7 separate regions of the Homo sapiens genome follow, and regions 1, 2, 4, 5, 6 and 7 are each linked to region 3. The links are contacts of gene promoters, found by promoter capture Hi-C in blood cells and fetal thymus (Javierre and others, 2016). All regions are on one chromosome and are shown on one strand. Each heading gives the region's core, a stretch centred on a gene start or on the middle of the fragment in contact. The rest is flanking DNA. Distances are from core to core; before and after follow the strand shown.

What was found. The method cuts DNA at HindIII sites, captures the fragments that hold promoters and counts their contacts. A CHiCAGO score of 5 or more calls a contact.
Region 1: a fragment that was not itself captured here is called in contact with the fragment with the promoter of KCNQ5 in region 3 in 1 of 17 cell types (fetal thymus); the score reaches 5.9 in fetal thymus.
Region 2: a contact is called between a fragment that was not itself captured here and the fragment with the promoter of KCNQ5 in region 3, in 3 of 17 cell types (M2 macrophages, total B cells and M0 macrophages). The highest score is 9.7, in M2 macrophages.
Region 4: a fragment that was not itself captured here is called in contact with the fragment with the promoter of KCNQ5 in region 3 in 1 of 17 cell types (total CD8 T cells); the score reaches 6.2 in total CD8 T cells.
Region 5: the fragment with the promoter of DDX43 here is called in contact with the fragment with the promoter of KCNQ5 in region 3 in 1 of 17 cell types (naive CD8 T cells); the score reaches 5.6 in naive CD8 T cells.
Region 6: a contact is called between a fragment that was not itself captured here and the fragment with the promoter of KCNQ5 in region 3, in 5 of 17 cell types (fetal thymus, naive CD4 T cells, total CD4 T cells and 2 more). The highest score is 9.3, in fetal thymus.
Region 7: the fragment with the promoter of EEF1A1 here is called in contact with the fragment with the promoter of KCNQ5 in region 3 in 4 of 17 cell types (naive CD8 T cells, non-activated CD4 T cells, activated CD4 T cells and 1 more); the score reaches 9.8 in naive CD8 T cells.

Annotation. Positions count from the first base shown.
Region 1 is chr6:73,278,886-73,281,585 of GRCh38, forward strand. All of the region lies in intron 3 of C6orf147 (chromosome 6 open reading frame 147), which reads right to left. The region is part of intron 2 of LOC122539213 (KHDC1-KHDC1L); the gene reads right to left. It also overlaps a transcript of KHDC1 not described here and the pseudogene KHDC1-AS1. Among named protein-coding and RNA genes, the nearest start is that of KHDC1, 17 kb to the left of the region's middle. The HindIII fragment of the contact is 6,698 bases long and covers 1-2,700 here.
Region 2 is chr6:73,199,395-73,202,094 of GRCh38, forward strand. No RefSeq gene overlaps it. Among named protein-coding and RNA genes, the nearest start is that of KHDC1L, 25 kb to the right of the region's middle. The HindIII fragment of the contact is 6,966 bases long and covers 1-2,700 here.
Region 3 is chr6:72,620,657-72,623,356 of GRCh38, forward strand. It overlaps KCNQ5 (potassium voltage-gated channel subfamily Q member 5), which reads left to right and starts at 1,408. Exons shown (of 14, transcript NM_019842.4): 1 at 1,408-1,931. The coding sequence starts at 1,534. KCNQ5-DT (KCNQ5 divergent transcript) reads right to left here and starts at 2,023. Exons shown (of 3, transcript NR_186827.1): 1 at 1,876-2,023. RefSeq lists silencers at 1,403-1,662, 2,693-2,700 and an enhancer at 2,093-2,700. The HindIII fragment of the contact is 6,363 bases long and covers 364-2,700 here.
Region 4 is chr6:73,331,013-73,333,714 of GRCh38, forward strand. It overlaps the pseudogene PAICSP3. Among named protein-coding and RNA genes, the nearest start is that of DPPA5, 22 kb to the right of the region's middle. The HindIII fragment of the contact is 264 bases long and covers 1,190-1,453 here.
Region 5 is chr6:73,393,393-73,396,092 of GRCh38, forward strand. It overlaps DDX43 (DEAD-box helicase 43), which reads left to right and starts at 1,436. Exons shown (of 17, transcript NM_018665.3): 1 at 1,436-1,763. The coding sequence starts at 1,514. LOC124901538 (small nucleolar RNA U13) reads right to left here and starts at 621; the gene lies at 521-621. It also overlaps a transcript of OOEP not described here. RefSeq lists an enhancer at 1,053-1,553. The HindIII fragment of the contact is 12,904 bases long and covers 1-2,700 here.
Region 6 is chr6:73,304,573-73,307,272 of GRCh38, forward strand. The region is part of intron 2 of C6orf147 (chromosome 6 open reading frame 147); the gene reads right to left. All of the region lies in intron 1 of LOC122539213 (KHDC1-KHDC1L), which reads right to left. It also overlaps a transcript of KHDC1 not described here. Among named protein-coding and RNA genes, the nearest start is that of C6orf147, 4.5 kb to the right of the region's middle. The HindIII fragment of the contact is 7,042 bases long and covers 1-2,700 here.
Region 7 is chr6:73,519,758-73,522,474 of GRCh38, forward strand. EEF1A1 (eukaryotic translation elongation factor 1 alpha 1) reads right to left here and starts at 1,275. Exons shown (of 8, transcript NM_001402.6): 1 at 1,243-1,275; 2 at 126-299. The coding sequence starts at 269. RefSeq lists enhancers at 1-435, 393-692, 436-1,257, 983-1,092, 1,143-1,222 and 1 more and a silencer at 1,803-2,032. The HindIII fragment of the contact is 5,848 bases long and covers 1-2,717 here.

The DNA.
Region 1 (2,700 bases), core at 133-2,632, 660 kb after region 3:
CAGTGTGAGAACATCAAATAACGTTTTTCCTGCCTCTTTGTCACTTTTCATGTGAATACATTCTCTCACACTTGGCTACAAACTCCTTTTTGGCATGGATGATAAATCTGTATTCTTCTACTACTGAGACCCTAGGTACACAGTTAAACACTAGATGATTGACTGTTACAGTGATTGCATATTTATCAACCAGTTAGCCTTAATTAATGCATGTGGTATTAATGAATAAAAACCAGGTCAATCTGGCATGGTGGCTCATGCCTATAATCCCAGCACTTTGGGAGGCCAAGGCTCGCAGATCACTTGCAGTCAGGAGTTCAAGACCACCTTGGCCAACGTGACGAAACCCCGTCTCTACTAAAAATACAAAAAACTTAGCCAGGCATAGTGGCGCACACCTGTAATCCAGCTACTTGGGAGCCTGAGGCAGGAGAATTGCTTGAACCTGGGAGGTGGAGGCTGCAGTGAGCCAAGATCGCGCTCCAGCCTAGGTGACAGACCGAGCCTGTCTCAAAAAATAAAAATGAAAATAAAAAACCAAGTCAACTATATGGACATTTGACTGTATATAAATCTCTCTATATGCTCTACAGTATCAAGAAAAGTCTGCGAAAATTGCATATTAATAATTGGGAAAATATATTGAAATTTTTTTCTCCATTTGCCTCAATGATAACATGGGACCATGGATTTTTTTTTTTTTTTTTTTTTTTGAAGAGATGTGGTGTCGCTGTCACCCAGGCTGGAGTGCAGTGGCGAACATGGCTCACTGCAGCCTTGACCTCTTAGGCTCGAGCAATCCTCCTGCCTCAGTCCCCCAAGTAACTTGGACTATAGGCACCCACCACCACACCCAGCTAATGTTTATATTTTTCGTAGAGACAGAGTTTTGCTGTGTTGCCAGGCTGATCAACTCCTGAGCTTATGCAATCCACTCACCTCGGCCTCCCAAAGTGCCAGGATTACAGGCGTGAGCCACCTTGCCCGGCCAAGATGAGGTATTATTACATCATTATTGTAAGGTACTGTTGGGCCCTCTTTCTATTTTGTTATTTTGTATGTGATCATCATTGTTGCTCATCATTCCTGTTCTTGGTATAGTTCCTACTTTTTCTGCGTTCCTTTGGCCTATTCACAGTTTACTACATCCATCCTTCTCTACTTTTATAGTTAGAGAAATGTGATAGCCAGTCCTACACTTAATAGAAGAAATAATACCCAGATATTTACCCTCCTTCAAATTAAAATTAATAAAGATTAAATATATCCTTTTTTGTTTTATTTATTTTTGAGGAGACAGTCTCACTGTCACCCAGGTTGGAGTGCAATGGCACAATCACAACTCACTACAGCCTCTACCTACCCATGCTCAGGTGATCCTCCCATCTCAGCCTTCCAAGTAGCTGGAACCACAGGCATGCACCACCATGCTCGGCTAATGTTTGTATTTTATTTTTTGTAGAAATGGGGTTTTGCCATGTTGTCCAGGCTGGTCTCGAACTCCTGGGCTCAAGCAATCAGCCCACCTCAGCCTCCCAAAGTGCTGAGATTACTGGCATGACCCAACATGCCAAGCCAAACATATCCTTTTATGTGATTTATTTGTGAATTACAATGGTCTTTAATTTCTTTTTTTTTTTTTTTTTTTTGAGACTTTTTCTTTTCACTCTTGTTGCCCAGGCTGGAGTACAATGGCATAATCTCGGCTCACCGCAACCTCCACCTCCCAGGTTCAAGTGATTCTCCTGCCTCAGCCTCCCGAGTAGCTGGGATTACAGGCATGCACCACCACACACAGCTAATTTTGTATTTTTAGTAGCGATGGGGTTTCTCCATATTGGTCAGGCTGGTCTCAAACTCCAGACCTCAGGTGACCTGTCCACCTTGGCCTCCCAAAGTGCTGGGATTACAGGTGTGAGCCACCATGCCCAACCTAATTTCTTTTTTAATAGCTTTTTAAATCTTGTCAGTTTGCATTTTCCCCAGAACTCCCTTCTGTGATCATATATCTTCTTCCTAAAGCACATCCTTTAGAAGTTTTGGCTGGGCATGGTGGCTTACGCCTGTAATCCCAACACTTTGGGAGACCAAGTAGGGCAAATCACTTGAGGTCAGGAGTTTGAGATCAGCCTGGCCAACATGGGGAAACCCTGTCTCTACTAAAAATACAAAAATTAGCCTGGCATGGTGGTGCCTGTCTGTAATCCCAGCACTTTGGGAGGCCAAGGCAGGCGGATCACCTGAGATCAGGAGTTTGAGACCAGCCTAACATGGAGAAACCTTGTCTCTACTAAAAATAGAAATTTAGCCAGGCGTGGTGGCACACACCTGTAATCCCAGCTACTCAGGAGGCTAAGGCAGGAGAATCACTTGAACCTGGGAGGCAGAGGTTGCAGTGAGCCAAGCTCATGCCACGGCACTCCAGCCTGGGTGACAGAACGAGACTCTCTCAAAAAAAAAAACAAAAAACCACCTGGGTGCAGTGGGTCACACCTGTAATCCCAGCATTTCCTGAAGGTCAAGAGTTCAAGACCAGCCTTGCCAACATGGTGAAACTCCGTCTCTACTTAAAATATAAAAAATCAGCCAGGCGTGGTGATGGGCGCCTGTAATCCCAGCTACTTGGGAGGCTGAGGCAGGAGAATCGCTTGAACCCAGGAGGCAAAGATTCCAGTGAGCCAAGATCGCGCCATTGCACTC
Region 2 (2,700 bases), core at 182-2,681, 580 kb after region 3:
GAGATGTTTTAGACAGGAGGAAGAATTACAGAGTGTTATCCTAGAGGGAAGAAAGGGCTTCCCACTACTGCTCTAAAGAGATCAAATAGTTATGTGCCTGTTCTATCAACTTCTAGATGAGGGAAAAGAAAATTGTGTATGGTATATGCTTGCTTGACCAACTTAAAAATGTTAAACCGCTTCCAAACATTTTTGGAAATACTTTAGCAGTACTTCCCACTCCTTCCATTTAAAGCAAAATATACTTACAACAGTTATTCTATCCTAACCATTCATGAAAATGGGCTGCCAGATCTTCAAGTGACAACTTCTATCAGTCTAGATTCAACTGCTTTGAGAATCTGGTACAAGTAAAAATTGTTTCTTTGAAAAACTTAAATTTTATCTCACACAGCTCTGAGATTTGAAAACAAAATAGAAATCTAAAAATGTTTTTAAAATAAAAATAGGCTGAGCACAGTGGCTCACGCCTGTAATCCCAGCCCTTTGGGAGGCCGAGGTAGTTGGATCCCCTGAGGTCAGGAATTCAAGACTAGCCTGACCAATATGGTGAAACCCCACCTCTACTAAAAGTACAAAAATCAGCCAGGCGTGGTGGTGTGCGCCTATAGTCCCAGCTACTCAGGAGGCTAAGACAGGAGAATTGCTTGAACCCGAGAGGCAGAGGTTGCAGTGAGCCAAGATTGCAGAGATCACACCACTGCACTCCAGCCTGGGCAACAGAGTGAGACTCCATCTCAATAAATAAATAAACTAATTAATTAAATAAAACAAATTTTCATTAACTGCGACAAGACTTCTCCCTCTAGCCCACCTAATTCCAAATTACTGAAGTTTTTGCTACATTTCAAAACAGAAACGTAGCAGATACATTATGCACAAACTATCGATTTAGGCACTGCTCTGGAAATCACAGCACCACAAAAACTGGTGAATGGCAAAACTTTCCTGTTCAAATAAATAGGAAGGTCAAAGGTACATTGATATGATATATTACTCTTTGCCTAGTCATATGATTTACTTCTTTTCTGTCACAATGTTGGCGACTATTTTAAGTCCAGTATGCTCTAGGATAGATATCAGGGTTCTAGGGTTTCCATACACTGTCATAACACCTGCACCTACTTTTAGAACTTTTCACTTGTATGCTTTTTTAGGTTTTTTTGGTTTTGTTTGTTTGTTTGTTTTGTTTGATTGTTTTTGGACACAGTCTCTCTCTCTGTCACCCAGGCTGGAGTGCAGTGGTGCAATCTCAGTTCACTGCAACCTCTACCTCCCAGGTTCAAGCAATTCTCGTGCCTCAGCTTCCTGAGTAGCTGGGATTACAGGTGTACACCACCATGCCCGGCTAATTTTTTGTGTTTTAGTAGAGACGAGGTTTCACCATGTTGCCCAGGCTGGTGTCAAACTCCTGAGCTCAGAGGATCCACTCGCCTTGGTCTCTAAAAGTGCTAAGATTTACAGGCATGAGCCACCGTGCACAGCAGCTTTTTTTATCTTTGGTGACACTCATCTCTTTCCATTACTTGCTGCTTCTTCCTTCTCTGTTCCTTTGCCTGCATTGCTGTGACTCACTTCCTGTATCACCAATCCCTATCCATTCCTGTGCCCCCCAAGTAACTAGGTACTCACACCCTCCCCTTGCTGCAGCTCAGGGTGCCACTCACCCTCACTTAAGCCATGAGGACATCACACCATGCACACCCCCAACACATAGATGCTTTTCAGAAGTGCTGGCACTGGCGCTCCTCATCTGAGCCCTCTGGCCAATGCTGCAATGCCCAGTTCTACCCCCGCTACCAGAAATCCCTCTGCTTGCTTGGTGGGAGAGGAGGCAAACCCCACTCCAGGATGGGAGCTCCTTGCTCTCTTTTTTTTTTTTTTTTTTTTTTTTTTTTTGAGACAGGCTGGGGTACTGTGGCACGATCTCGGCTCACTGCAACCTCAACCTCTCGGGTTCAAGAAATTTTCCTGCCTCAGCCTCCCTAGTAGCTGGGATAACAGGTGTGTGCTACCACGCCTGGCTAATTTTGGGGTTTTATTTTTTGTTGTTGTTGTTGTTGTTTTATTTTTCTGAGATGGAGTTTTGGTCTTGTTGCCCAGGCTGGAGTACAATGGTGCAATCTCAGCTCACTGCAACCTCCACCTCCTGGGTTCAAGCAATTCTCCTGCCTCAGCCTCCGGAGTAGCTGGGATTACAGGCATGCAACACCATGCCCACCTAATTTTTGCATTTTTAGTAAAGACGGGGTTTCACCATGTTAGCCAGGCTGGGTCTTGAACTCCTGACCTCAGGTCATCCACCCTCCCCCGCCTCCCAAAGTGTTGGGATTACAGGCGTTAGCCACCACGCCTGGCCTAATTTTTGTATTTTTAATAGAGATGGGGTTTTACCATGTTGGTCAGGCTGGTCTTGAACTCCTGACCTCAGGTGATCCGTCCACCTCAGCCTCCCAAAGTGCTGGGATTACAGGCATGAGCCACCACGCCTGGCCACTCCTTGCCTTTAGGGTAAACTAACTCTTCCACTCTGGGTTCCCAAGCCCTTGGTTGTCACCTGCTGCCCCTCCCCTTCCCCATATCTACAGCATCTCACCCTTTCCCCTCATAAGTATGCTTAAGCCTCTCCCATGTTACCAACAACTTTCCAGTACCCTCTCTTCCTCTTTTTTTTTTTTTTTTTTTTTTTTTTTGAGACGG
Region 3 (2,700 bases), core at 158-2,657:
CTTAGCATTGTTTTAGCCTTAGGAAAGGAAAAGGCCCGAAGGAATCCACCTTGCAACTATCTGCTATGTCTTTGTGGTGGAAGCTTAGTTTTGCCTTCAATTTAATTTGATGATTTTCTTTCATATTTGGGGAAGAGCCACTCTGTTGGAAGAAGTCCCCGAGCCTGGCACCCTTCAGTTTTCCCTATGCTGAATGTGAGATTTAAACTGCCTTTTCTTTGTAATACACTGTTTCTGAAGGCCAGAGGCTGCGGCCAGTGGCACCGTGGCCTCTCTCTCCGCCAAGGGCGCATAGGCTTTGGGCCACCCGGGTGCCAGGGGTGGTGGAAGACCCAGTCAGTTGTTCCTTGCAACAGGTCTCTAAGCTTGTATGTTACAACATAAGGTGGGTGGGGTCGGAACCCCGAAAAGCCGGCGTCCTGGACACCCCATCCTCCAGGTGTTCTTTCCCAGACACTGGGTCCTCGCCGCCGCTGCTGAACTTCTCAATCATATGACTTTCTCGGACTTAAATGGAAATTTCTTGACGGAGGGAACTGGGTTTGTTCTCCCAGGCTTCGCGCTGCAGTCAGGCAGAGCCCCGGGGCAGCTCGCTCACCGCGGAGGAGCCACTTTGGAGTTTTACGCCCTTTCCACACCCCACCCATGGACTGGAAAGGATGTTCAGTTACTCGCGAGCTTGTCTGATACTGGGATGGAAAGTCACAGTCCGCAGGCTGGAGTGAGGCGCGGGAAGATGCCTGGTCCTTGCCTCGCGGACTTGGCAGCCGCGTCCTGCGGGTCTGTCCACTGAACTGCTGAGGACTCGCCCGTGTGCGGGGACCCGAGTGCCACTTCCCGGAGCGTTACCTTGCGCTCCAGCCTCCAGGCTAGATAATACCTGGAAGGCAGGGCAGGGCTGTTCCCGCTCTCACCCCTTGCGGAAGGATGGCAGGATCCGGCGCAGCGACGTAGCAGCGGGAGGGCACAGCGACCTGCATCTCCAGTTTCTCCTCAGGACACAAGGCTGACTTCACCTTCCGGACAGCTGCAAAGCCCCTGCCAGAACCAAACCGAACTCGCGCCTCGGAGAGGGGCTTCTGGGGCCGTTTCGCTGCAGGGCGTGGGGAGTGGAGAGAGGGAAGGGGAAGCCTGGGGCTGGGTGTGCGCGCGTGGGAGCGCGCCTCGGAGCGCCCCGCACTCCCCCACTCTATCCCCGGGGGCAGTTTGGGAAGGAGGGAGTGGTAGTCGCGGGAATGAGGGAGCAAGAGAAACCCTCTCAAAGTGACGCCCCAAACAGGTCCGGATTTAGAATTCGAAGCTAAAGGCTGTTAGAAATTGGGACTCCTCGGCCTCCTCTGCAGCCCCTCCTTTCCCGCCCCGAAGCCCGGGCGGTTTGCTGGCTGCCTGCTTCCCCGCCCCCGGCTCAGAGGTCTCTGGCTGGCGGGCGCCCCGTCGGCCGCCGGCTTCCTCCTTGAAACCCGCCGGCGCACATGAGGCCGCTGCCCCCGCCGCAGGCGCTGGCGGCCCCCTCGCGGTGCCCGTGGTGATGCCATGCCCCGCCACCACGCGGGAGGAGAGGAGGGCGGCGCCGCCGGGCTCTGGGTGAAGAGCGGCGCAGCGGCGGCGGCGGCGGGCGGGGGGCGCTTGGGCAGCGGCATGAAGGATGTGGAGTCCGGCCGGGGCAGGGTGCTGCTGAACTCGGCAGCCGCCAGGGGCGACGGCCTGCTACTGCTGGGCACCCGCGCGGCCACGCTCGGTGGCGGCGGCGGTGGCCTGAGGGAGAGCCGCCGGGGCAAGCAGGGGGCCCGGATGAGCCTGCTGGGGAAGCCGCTCTCTTACACGAGTAGCCAGAGCTGCCGGCGCAACGTCAAGTACCGGCGGGTGCAGAACTACCTGTACAACGTGCTGGAGAGACCCCGCGGCTGGGCGTTCATCTACCACGCTTTCGTGTGAGTACCCGCGCCCCCTGCTATGCCCGCTGCAGGGGACCACTGTCCCTGGCCCCCTGGGGCGTGCTCCGCGCTCGCGCCCTTGGGCCCCCGCGCGCGTGCACACGTGGTGGCTTTTATTTCTTCGCACGTGTTCGTGGTCTTCCTTCTGGAGCCTCTCCCCTCCCCCAGCCCCACTTCTCTCATCTCTACAGCTTGAACCTTTTCCCCGAGGACACCCAATGAACTGCCCGGTAGCTTCAGGCTCCCGGGGCGAGAGCCAGGCAGACGCGGGACTTAGGCTGCGCGGATAATTGGGAGCAATTAGGTCCCAAGATACGTAAACTTCAACCGAACGGGGCGCCCGGGAGCTAGGGAATGCAAAGGGAGGACAGGCGCCCGTGTGAGGCTTGAGAGTATACTGGAGAGGTTAGGAGGTGATGGCGGGGTAGGACGGGGAGAAGTGAGGGGGCATCGAGGGCTAGGTCCTCAGTCCTAGGGGCGGAGTAGGGGAAGCTGCTACTTGGAGAGAGCTGCTAGGTTTTAAGCGCGCCCGGAAACACGCCTCGCCACCACCCAGCCACCACCAACGGAAAATCTGTCAGTGCATGTAGCCCTTCCTGCCACGGAGAAGGTGGCCAAGGTCTAGAGGAGGCCAGCAGGCCAGGCGAAGCAACGCTCCCGCGCTGCAGGGGGCGGGGAGGCAGCGGGGAACCTGGGGCGCAGGAACGCGGGCGGAGGTGCGATAGCAGAAGCGCAAATGGGTCGCCTCTGACAGAGATCGGGCAGT
Region 4 (2,702 bases), core at 72-2,571, 710 kb after region 3:
ATCTTATACTGGTTTGTCCAGAACAACTAAAAGGATTTAGAAAATTAAAAAACAAAAAACAACAACAAAAAAACCCTGTGGTCAGATGTTCAATCTTTGGCCGGGAGTGGTGATTCACACCTGTAATCCCAACACTTTGGGAGGCTGAGGCAGGGGGATCACTTGAGGCCAGGAATTCAAGACCAGCCTGACTAACATGGCAAAACTTCATCTCTACTAAAAATACAAAAAAAAAAAAAAATTAGCTGGGCATGGTGGCACACGCCTCCCAGCTATTCAGGAGGCTGAGACACAAGAATCATTTGAACCCAGGAGGCGGAGGCTGCAGTGAGCTGAGATTGCACCACTGCATTCCAGCCTGCGTGACAGACTGAGACTCCTTCTCATAAAAATAAAAATAAAATAAAAAATTAGTCAAGTGAGATGGCATGTACCTACAGTTCCAGCTAATTGGGAGGTAGAGGCAAGAGAATCTCTTCTGCTCAGGAGTTCAAAGCTATAGTGAGCTATGACTGTGCCACTGCACGCCAGCCTGGGTGACAGAGTAAGACCCCATCTTGAGAAAGAAGAAAGAAAAGAAAAAGATGACCAAAAAGAATTGGCTGATTATCTCTCTACCATGGACTTAGTCCCTAACTAAAAATGAAGAAAGTTGGCTATTTACAACATGTAGAAAAACACAACAACAGAAACAATCCTTCATAGCAAACCCATGAAAATAAGAGGATATGGAATGGAAGGAAAACTTCATAGTTAAGGTTGGCAGGTAAAATATAAGATGCTCAGTTAAATTGTATAAGTATCTCCCAAATACCTAATATTTAAGGATTTCTTTTCAACAATTGACATCACAAAGTTAACAAATGGGTGACAGATTTGAAGAAGATACTTGTAATACACACAGACACACACACACACACACACACACACACACACACAACTAAACTAAAAGACATTGATATGTAAACCATGGAAGGAATCCTTGCAAATAAACAAAAACAGGATCTGGATCCCCATAAAATAATGGCCAAAGAACATGATTAGGTAATTCACAGAAAGGGAAAATAAATGACTTACAAGTATATCAGATAATATACCTAACTGCTGGGAAATGCAGGTTACAACAATAAGGCACAGAAAAACCAAAGTCAGAGGACTGACAATATCTCACTTCAAGACTTAGTATGAAAGCTTGGCTGGGTATGTCTCTACTAAAAATATAAAAATTAGCCAGGCGTGGTGGCAAGTGCCTGTAATCCCAGCTACTCAAGGGGCTGAGGCAGGAGAATCGCTTGAACCCAGGAGGCAGAGGTTGCAGTGAGCCAAAATCGCACCACTGCACTCCAGCCTGGGCGATGGAGCAAGACTCAGTCTAAAACAAAACAAAACAAACACACACACACACACACACACACACAAATCTATTTTTTAAAAAATGATAGTAGGTAAGACAAGCTTCAGCCCATTGCCCACCTTGTGGGTATAAAAGGGAAGCTTGATCACTGGTAGAGATTTGATAAAGACAAGTGTAGAGAGCTTCAGAAGTACCACTCAGAGAGCTTGCCCTGTGTCCTCTAGAATTTGGGAATGGGGAGGCTGGTAACTGACCCATGCCTAACTAGTCCTAAGGCAAGAGGCTGGCCAGCTACCCTAGCTCCCACAAGCAAGAAGTGTCTTCAGTGAGAAGAGGTTACACGTCCATGAAAAGAGGAGCAAAGGCAGCTGCTTCCTGTGGACCAGATTGGAGCCATCGTTTGTTGTCTTGAAAAGGACACCAGCAAGATGGCCCAGGCCAGCAGAGTGGATGTGGTGGAAGCACAAAGCAGGCAAGAAGAAAAAGAGCAAGGATTCAGTTCAAGAGATAAAGTGAATGCTTTTGAGAGAAATCATGTTATGTGCCAGGCTGCAAAAATGATTAGACAGGGTTCCTGTCTCTGTGCTTTCCAGCCATTGGAAGGTAAGTGGGTATTTAAATAATTTCAATATAGCGTGATGCTGAGGAGGTTAGATTTTATCCTGTAAGGCTCGGATGTCAGTGCCACTGAATGATTTAAGGGGATTTCACAATCAGATTTGGTGGCAATGTGAAATAGAGTTATGATGGGGCTAAATATGGAGGCAGAGAAAACAGTTAGATCAAAACATCAATTGCTGAATTCAAAATGAGTGTTAAGAGCCTGACCTAAGAAAGTGGTAGTAGATACGGAAAAGAAAAGGCAACGCAAGAAAAATCTGTGCAAGAGCCACAACAGACAAAACAGGCACACAAGGATTAATATGAGATTTACAATCGTAGTACTTCCGATGGTCTTAACCCAAGTGACAGGGTTAAGATTTGCGAGGCCATCAGCAACTCCTGCAATTGCCTCAGTTCTTGGCACCAAATTTAAATGGGGGTGATAAAAAGAGTGAAAAATAACAAAATAAGATACTATTTTATTCATACAGTCTGACCAAAAAAACTGGGTATATGAAAATTTTGAGAATGGGAAGAAACTGACACAATGCATTTTTGGCAGAAACGAAGACTGGTACAGACATTCTGGTGCTCAATGTACTCATATTTAGTAAAATTGGTTATGAAAACCATAAACATATCCTACATCACAGAAAGCACACTCCGAGAAAATTATCTGAGAAATTTCCCCATGTGCCCATAGAGGATACTCATCACAGCAGTTTGTAGAAGTAGGGAACTAAAA
Region 5 (2,700 bases), core at 186-2,685, 770 kb after region 3:
AACTGAAATTTGTTCAGATAATTCAAAGATCCTAATCAAAGGAGTGCACTTGCAGCTGGCTTGAAGCCCTGGAGTAGTAGTATGTCCAGCCACAGAGCCAGGCTGCAGTGACGGTAATGCTTCAGGAATCTATTCAATTTATTTCCTTAGCTCTAAAATTATGGCAGGCCAGGCACTGTGGCTCATACCTGTAATCCCTCAACTGTGTGAGGCCAAGGCAGGAGGAGTTGGATACCAGCCCGGGCAACATAGGGAGGTCTTGTCTTTACAAAATAATTAGCCTGGCATGGTGGTGCACACCTGTAGTCCCAACTATTCGGGAGGCTGTGGTGGGAGTATCACTTGAGTCCAACAGGTCGAATCTGCAGTGAGTGATCGCACCACTGCACTCCAGCCTAGGCGACAGAGGTCAAAAACAAAACAAAAGAAAACAAACAAAAAAAACATAGCAAACATCCAGAAGACTGTGTAGAGCAATGAATGTCTCTCAAGCCAGTGATCTTTTTCTCTTCATTTTTCACATCAGGTGGGTAGTGTGCCCACTTCGTAACAAGGTTTGAGGGAGGCACATTTGACACAAGAGCATGAAAACCCAATCACACTTATGACTTACAAAAGGATCAAGTCAGTGATCTTTAAGCTGTGGGCCATTAAATACATTTTGTGAGCCGAGTGCAGTGGCTCAGGCCTGTAACCCCAGCACTATGGGAGGTGGAGGTGGGAGGATCACTTGAGTCCAGGAGTTCAAGACCAGCCTTGGGCAACATACTGGGAACTCCCATCTCTATTAAATTTTTTTTTTTTAATTTTGTGGATTACAACCATTTCAAAAACTAAAATAAGCGTAAATGTATCAAAATGCAGCTTACATAGCGAGGATAAATGCTGTTTTGTCAATCTGTTGTTTCAAGTTTTTTATGTGTGGATTGGGTCACCTTGTAACAGTGACTTACCTTTATGGGTCACGGTTGAAAACATTTCCGGTGCAGTGGCTGACTGTAATCCCAGCACTTTGGGAGGCCGAGGCTGGAAGATCACTTGAAGCCAGAAGCCAAGAGTTCAAGACCTGCCTGGGCAACACGGCGACACCCCGTCTCTATTTAAAAAGAAAAAAAAAAGTTTCCAAGGCACTGAGATGCCAGGAACCCGAGGTGTGTGTCCAGTAGGGGAGGGAGCAAATTGGGCGTTTGGAAAAAGTCCCACGCCTGGAAAGGAATACACAGTGGGGGGGTGGGGGGCGGGGCACATCGACTACTTCAAGGCACACTCCCACGGTTCAGAAAACCGATTGGCTAAAACTGGGAAAGTCCCGCCCACAACGCTCACTGGCCAATGGCTGCGTGAAATCAGTGCGAAGTGGGCGGGATAGAGAGCGTGGGCGGGGGGGCTAGCCTCGTGCGGGCTCCTTAAGTAGCGGCTGCGTGGCTTCCCTGGCACGCTACTCTTACGACGTCACGGTCAGGTGGTGCAGAGCTGGACGGCAACGACGTCGGACGCGCCCCTTCTTGGAACAATGTCCCACCACGGAGGAGCTCCCAAGGCCTCTACGTGGGTCGTTGCTAGTCGGCGAAGCTCGACAGTGTCCCGAGCGCCAGAGAGGAGGCCGGCGGAGGAGTTGAATCGAACAGGTCCTGAGGGATATAGTGTCGGCAGAGGTGGTCGCTGGAGAGGCACCTCTAGGCCCCCGGAGGCCGTGGCCGCTGGTCACGAGGAACTGCCGCTGTGTTTTGCTTTGAAGAGCCACTTTGTTGGCGCGGTAATCGGTGAGAATGGGAGTGGCTGGCAGGGCAGGATAGGTGGGGCCAGGGGCGGAGCCTGGGCGAAGGCATTTCCTCCCCACTGCCTCACCTCCAATCAGCTGCCACCTAGTGAGGTTCAGGTCTCTCCCAGAGCTATTTGTAAAACCTGGGGATAGAGTATAATTTAATCTGGCCGGGCGCGTTGGCTCACGCCTGTAATCCCAGTATTTTGGGAGGCCGAGGCGGGCGGATCACCCCAGGTCAGGAATTCGAGACCAGCTTGGCCAACATGGCAAAACCCTGTCTCTACTAAAAATATATATATTAAAAAAAATAGCTGGGCGTGGTGGCGCGCGCCTGTAATCCCAGATACTCCGGAGGCTGAGGCAGGAGAATGGCTTGAACCCGGCGGCAGAAGTTGGCAGTGAGCTGAGATCGCGCCACTGCACTCCAGCCTAGGTGACAGAGCAAGACTCCGTCTCAATTAAAAAAAAAAAAAAAAAGTAATTTAATCCACCTTTTGGTGTTTATACAGACAATGTATTTGGGAGAGCAACTCCTAGAAGACTTATGAAATCTTAGGGCTGAAGAGGGATGCTTAGAACAGGCCTTTTAACAGACAGCTAACCCCAGAATGAAAAACAAAACTTAATCAGTCTTTCTATGAGTACCATTTAGAGCCAGAAATCAAAGAAAAGCTATAAGGTCATTGTAGGGCTGCCTAGAGCAGTTGTATCTTGCTTTTAGTTTCCTTAATTTTTAAAAAGTTAAAAACTTTTCTTACTACATCTTGAGTGTTAACATTCAATTCTGAATTTTTAATTTTTTTCTTTCTTTTGATTTTTTTTTTTTTTGAGGCAGCTCTGTGGCCCCAGCTGGAGTGCAGTGTGGCGTGATCTCGGCTCACTACAACTTCCACCTCCCGGGCTCAAGCGATTCTAGCACCTCAGCCTCCCTAGTA
Region 6 (2,700 bases), core at 175-2,674, 680 kb after region 3:
ATGACAGGCGTGAGCCACTGCGCCAGCCACTTTTGTTCACATACCCTTTTATATCTTCTGAATTTGCTACAATGACATATATTACATACTTTAAAACAAAAATTAAGTAAAATCAAAGAAAAGGTTGGCAACATAATGAGTGGATTGCTAGACTTAGCCTAATAATTGGCTCAGGTTTCACAGAACTGGACTGTGAAACAAGGTCCAGTTTCCTTTCTGAATCTATCAGTCACCAACATAGCTGGTCTGGGATGCGTTTTCTTTGGAGGTCTTTGAAAACTACTAAAACCCAAAGTATCAAGATATATCCTGGTAATATTTTTGCAATTCTGGGAACATATATAACAAATTGCATCCCATTCCAGTATTAAAATAAGTATAGAAGCCAGATGCAGTGCTTCACACTTGTAATCCAAGCACTTTGGGAGGCTGAGGTGGGCAGATCACCTGAGGTCAGGGGTTCAAGACCAGCCTGGCCAATATGGTGAAACTTCATCTATACTAAAAATACAAAAATTAGCTGGGCATGGTGGCAGACTCCTGTAATCTCAGCTTCTCGGGAGGCTGAGGCACGAAAATTGCTTGAACCTGGGAAGCAGAGGTTGCAGTGAGCCAAGATTGCGCTACTGCACTCCAGCCTGCCTAAGTGACAGAGCAAGACTCCATCTCAAAAATATATATATAATATAAAAAATATAGAGAGAGATAATAAAGAAACAAATTTGAAGTCATGGAATTCGCCTTTCTTAAACTGGTTTCAATGAAACTGTTATCTATTTTGTATTCACTACAATCATAAGGAGACAACATAGCATAAGAGCCAAGATTCAAACCTCAACTTTTCCATTTACTGGATGAGTGACTTTAGATAAGTTTTTTAGTTTCTCTGTGTCTGAAATTCAAGGCAGTAATCAGAGAACCAATCTCATGGGCTTCTTTGAATATTGAAGAAGAGCACACATCCAAAACAGAAAGGACCTGGCACTTGAGCAAGCCCTCAAAGGTTAACAAATAAATTTTTAAGATATTCTAGCTACTTTTAAAAGTTTTTAGCATTTAAGAGAATATAATATATTGGATTTTGATTTAATTATTATTATTTTTTGAGACATAGTCTCACTCTGTCACCCAGGCTGGAGTGCAGTGGCACGATCTTGGCTCACTGCAACCTCCACCTCCTGGGTTCAAGTGATTCTCCTGCCTCAGGTTCCCAAGTAGCTGGGATTACAGGAGCCCGCCACCACACCCCGCTAATTTTTGTATTTTTAGTAGAGACGGGGTTCACCATGTTGGCCAGGATGGTCTTGAACTCCTGACCTCAAGTGATCTGCCCACCTTGGCCTCCCAAAGTGATGGAATTACAGGTGTGAGCCACCACGCCTGGCCTCTGATTATTTTTAAATTGAGCAAATTATATTTTTAAGTCTGTAAGTTTTGGGTTATTAGTTATGAAAGCAGGTACATATGCATTTAGTGTTTTTATTGCGGAAATGTTAATTAGTAGTCATAAATTAAGTAATCAGGGATTAAACAAAATGAGTATTCTTTATCTTCAACCAGAATGAATCTTTCCATATAGCTCCCTGAATCCTCACCCTTCCTGCCTCCTGCTCCTACTTATACTCCTCCTTCTACCAGAAACTGCTCCCCTCCACCAGAGCTCTAAATCACAACCCCTCTGCTTTCACTGGGGCTTGGAGGCTGCTACCTCTAGACTCTCCCTCCCACTGCATCAACTCTGCCCTCCCTCACCCGACACCCCGAGTAATTAAGCTCCCTCTTCCCCCAGCCTCTCCGTTCCCAGCTATTTCCCCATCCCAACAAAAATTACCCAGGTTTTCCCATCCAGGAGCATCAGTTCTGCTTACTAAAAACGTCCACTAAACATATTCCACATGCATCCCCATTTAAATTTTTCAACTCACTCCAACCTGGTTTCTGAGAATCTCACTCCTGCAACTGAACTGCTTGTGCTAAAGCTAGCAGTGAGCCCTGTGGTTCACAAACCAAGGAGCTATTTCATGCCCTCATCTGACTGGACTGCTGGACAGAATTCCCCAGAATAGATAATACCCTCCTTCTAGCTTGGGGTGGGGGTTGGTGCCCCGGGGCAGTGGGGGTGGGAGTTGAAGACTATTTAGAAAATTTTCACTTAGCTGGGCGTGGTGGCTCATGCCTGCAATCCCAACACTTTGGGAGGCCGAGGCAGGCAGATCACGAGGTCAAGAGATCGAGACCATCCTGGCCAACACGGTGAAACCCCGTCTCTACTAAAAATACAAAAAAATTAGCCAGGTGTGGTGGCGCACGCCTGTAGTCCCAGCTACTCAGGAGACTGAGGCAGGAGAATCGCTTGAACCCAGGAGGCAGAGATGGCAGTGAGTTGAGATTGTGCCACTGCACTCCAGCCTGGGTGACAGACCAGGAAGAAAGAGAGAAAATAAAACTTTCACTTAAACCCCCAAACACTGTGAGAAGACACAACTACCTTTTGAAAATGTTTTTCCTTTTACCCTGGAAAGAACACTGATCAACACTAAACTAATGTAAATTATTTATTATATAACCATTAGAGCAGCCGGGCAAGGTGGCTCATGCCTGTAATCCCAGCACCCAGGAGGCTGAGGCGGGTGGATCACGAGGTTAGGAGTTCAAGACCAGCCTGGACAAGATGGTGAAACCCCGTCTCTATTAAAAATA
Region 7 (2,717 bases), core at 25-2,524, 900 kb after region 3:
ATAAGTAAGGTCTTAACTATTAGCATTCAGATCTAAACCACTCACTAGTTCTGGGGAAATCACCTAATGATTCTGCTGGTAAAACTCATTTTAGTTGATCTTTCCCTTTCTGGTATTAAACATACCTCAGCAGCCTCCTTCTCAAATTTTTCAATGGTTCTTTTGTCGATGCCACCGCATTTATAGATCAGATGGCCAGTAGTGGTGGACTTGCCCGAATCTACGTGTCCAATGACGACAATGTTGATATGAGTCTTTTCCTTTCCCATTTTGGCTTTTAGGGGTAGTTTTCACGACACCTGAAATGGAAGAAAAAAACTTTGAACCACTGTCTGAGGCTTGAGAATGAACCAAGATCCAAACTCAAAAAGGGCAAATTCCAAGGAGAATTACATCAAGTGCCAAGCTGGCCTAACTTCAGTCTCCACCCACTCAGTGTGGGGAAACTCCATCGCATAAAACCCCTCCCCCCAACCTAAAGACGACGTACTCCAAAAGCTCGAGAACTAATCGAGGTGCCTGGACGGCGCCCGGTACTCCGTGGAGTCACATGAAGCGACGGCTGAGGACGGAAAGGCCCTTTTCCTTTGTGTGGGTGACTCACCCGCCCGCTCTCCCGAGCGCCGCGTCCTCCATTTTGAGCTCCCTGCAGCAGGGCCGGGAAGCGGCCATCTTTCCGCTCACGCAACTGGTGCCGACCGGGCCAGCCTTGCCGCCCAGGGCGGGGCGATACACGGCGGCGCGAGGCCAGGCACCAGAGCAGGCCGGCCAGCTTGAGACTACCCCCGTCCGATTCTCGGTGGCCGCGCTCGCAGGCCCCGCCTCGCCGAACATGTGCGCTGGGACGCACGGGCCCCGTCGCCGCCCGCGGCCCCAAAAACCGAAATACCAGTGTGCAGATCTTGGCCCGCATTTACAAGACTATCTTGCCAGAAAAAAAGCGTCGCAGCAGGTCATCAAAAATTTTAAATGGCTAGAGACTTATCGAAAGCAGCGAGACAGGCGCGAAGGTGCCACCAGATTCGCACGCGGCGGCCCCAGCGCCCAAGCCAGGCCTCAACTCAAGCACGAGGCGAAGGGGCTCCTTAAGCGCAAGGCCTCGAACTCTCCCACCCACTTCCAACCCGAAGCTCGGGATCAAGAATCACGTACTGCAGCCAGGGGCGTGGAAGTAATTCAAGGCACGCAAGGGCCATAACCCGTAAAGAGGCCAGGCCCGCGGGAACCACACACGGCACTTACCTGTGTTCTGGCGGCAAACCCGTTGCGAAAAAGAACGTTCACGGCGACTACTGCACTTATATACGGTTCTCCCCCACCCTCGGGAAAAAGGCGGAGCCAGTACACGACATCACTTTCCCAGTTTACCCCGCGCCACCTTCTCTAGGCACCGGTTCAATTGCCGACCCCTCCCCCCAACTTCTCGGGGACTGTGGGCGATGTGCGCTCTGCCCACTGACGGGCACCGGAGCCTCACGCATGCTCTTCTCCACCTCAGTGATGACGAGAGCGGGCGGGTGAGGGGGCGGGAACGCAGCGATCTCTGGGTTCTACGTTAGTGGGAGTTTAACGACGGTCCCTGGGATTCCCCAAGGCAGGGGCGAGTCCTTTTGTATGAATTACTCTCAGCTCCGGTCGGGGCGGGTTGGGGGGGGTGGTGACGGGGAGGCCGCCTGGAAGGGACGTGCAGAATCTTCCCTCTACCATTGCTGGCTTAGCTCCAAAGGTTGTATTGAGATTAGGGTGTACCTTCGCCTCTCAATCAGCCTCCCGTCCTCAGCCTTGCCATCTCGCTAGTCCGGGACAAATCCCTAGAGCGTCTTCCTCTGCGGGTCTCAGCCCAGCCCGGGGTTGGCTCCTCCTCCGCCCCGGCTTCCGCGCCCCTCCCGTGTGGCAAGGAGTACCAGGCCCGGGGACCCCGAGGGGCTTGGGGCGAAGGGTCGGGACTGGGGGCCTCCTTAACGGCTCACGGACTTGCGAGAGGTTCGGCTCGATGGCCGTGAAAGCGACGAATCCGCTCCTGTGCTGGCCTCTTGGCTCCTTCCATTCAAAGCCAGCTGCTTTTATGGAAGCCCGTAACACGTCATCTCCCCCTGGTACTCCAGATGTCCAGGCTTTCAGTTTAGAATAGACTCAGTCCTACAGTTAGCTTTAGATCTAATTCTAGTTTTGTTACGCCAAAAAGTTCCTGCGAGTGTGTGTGTGTGCCTCATGGTACTTTTTAAATTAAAAGGTGTACAGTTATTTGATTGCAAACATAAGGAACCTAAAATGCTTTCAGATTTTCCACATGATCTCATGTAGAGGCTAAGATCTACAGCATCAGCAAGTTTATCCACCCAGTTTCCTAACCCCAACACTTGCTATGAAGTCACAGCTTCTCCTATTTAAATAAGTGCCTATTATATTTAAATAAGTGCTGTCGTTTTCTGTCATCCTATCGATTGTAACTGCATTTTAGCATAAATCTAGGGCAAGATTGGATGAGCTTGGCCTTTTTGGATGGCTATCAAGGCAGGCCTTGGGAAATGCTCCTCTGAGGAAAGAAGAACGTTTATTTTTAATGAGCTAATTACTAGATCATTATGTTTCTTCTTCCAGCTGTAGAATATCATTGCCCAGCTTCTCGAACAAACTTATTTATTAACAAGTATTTGAGAACCTACTATGTGGCCAACGCTAAGTACTGTGGAGTTCCTTCTGGAGAGGAAACCACA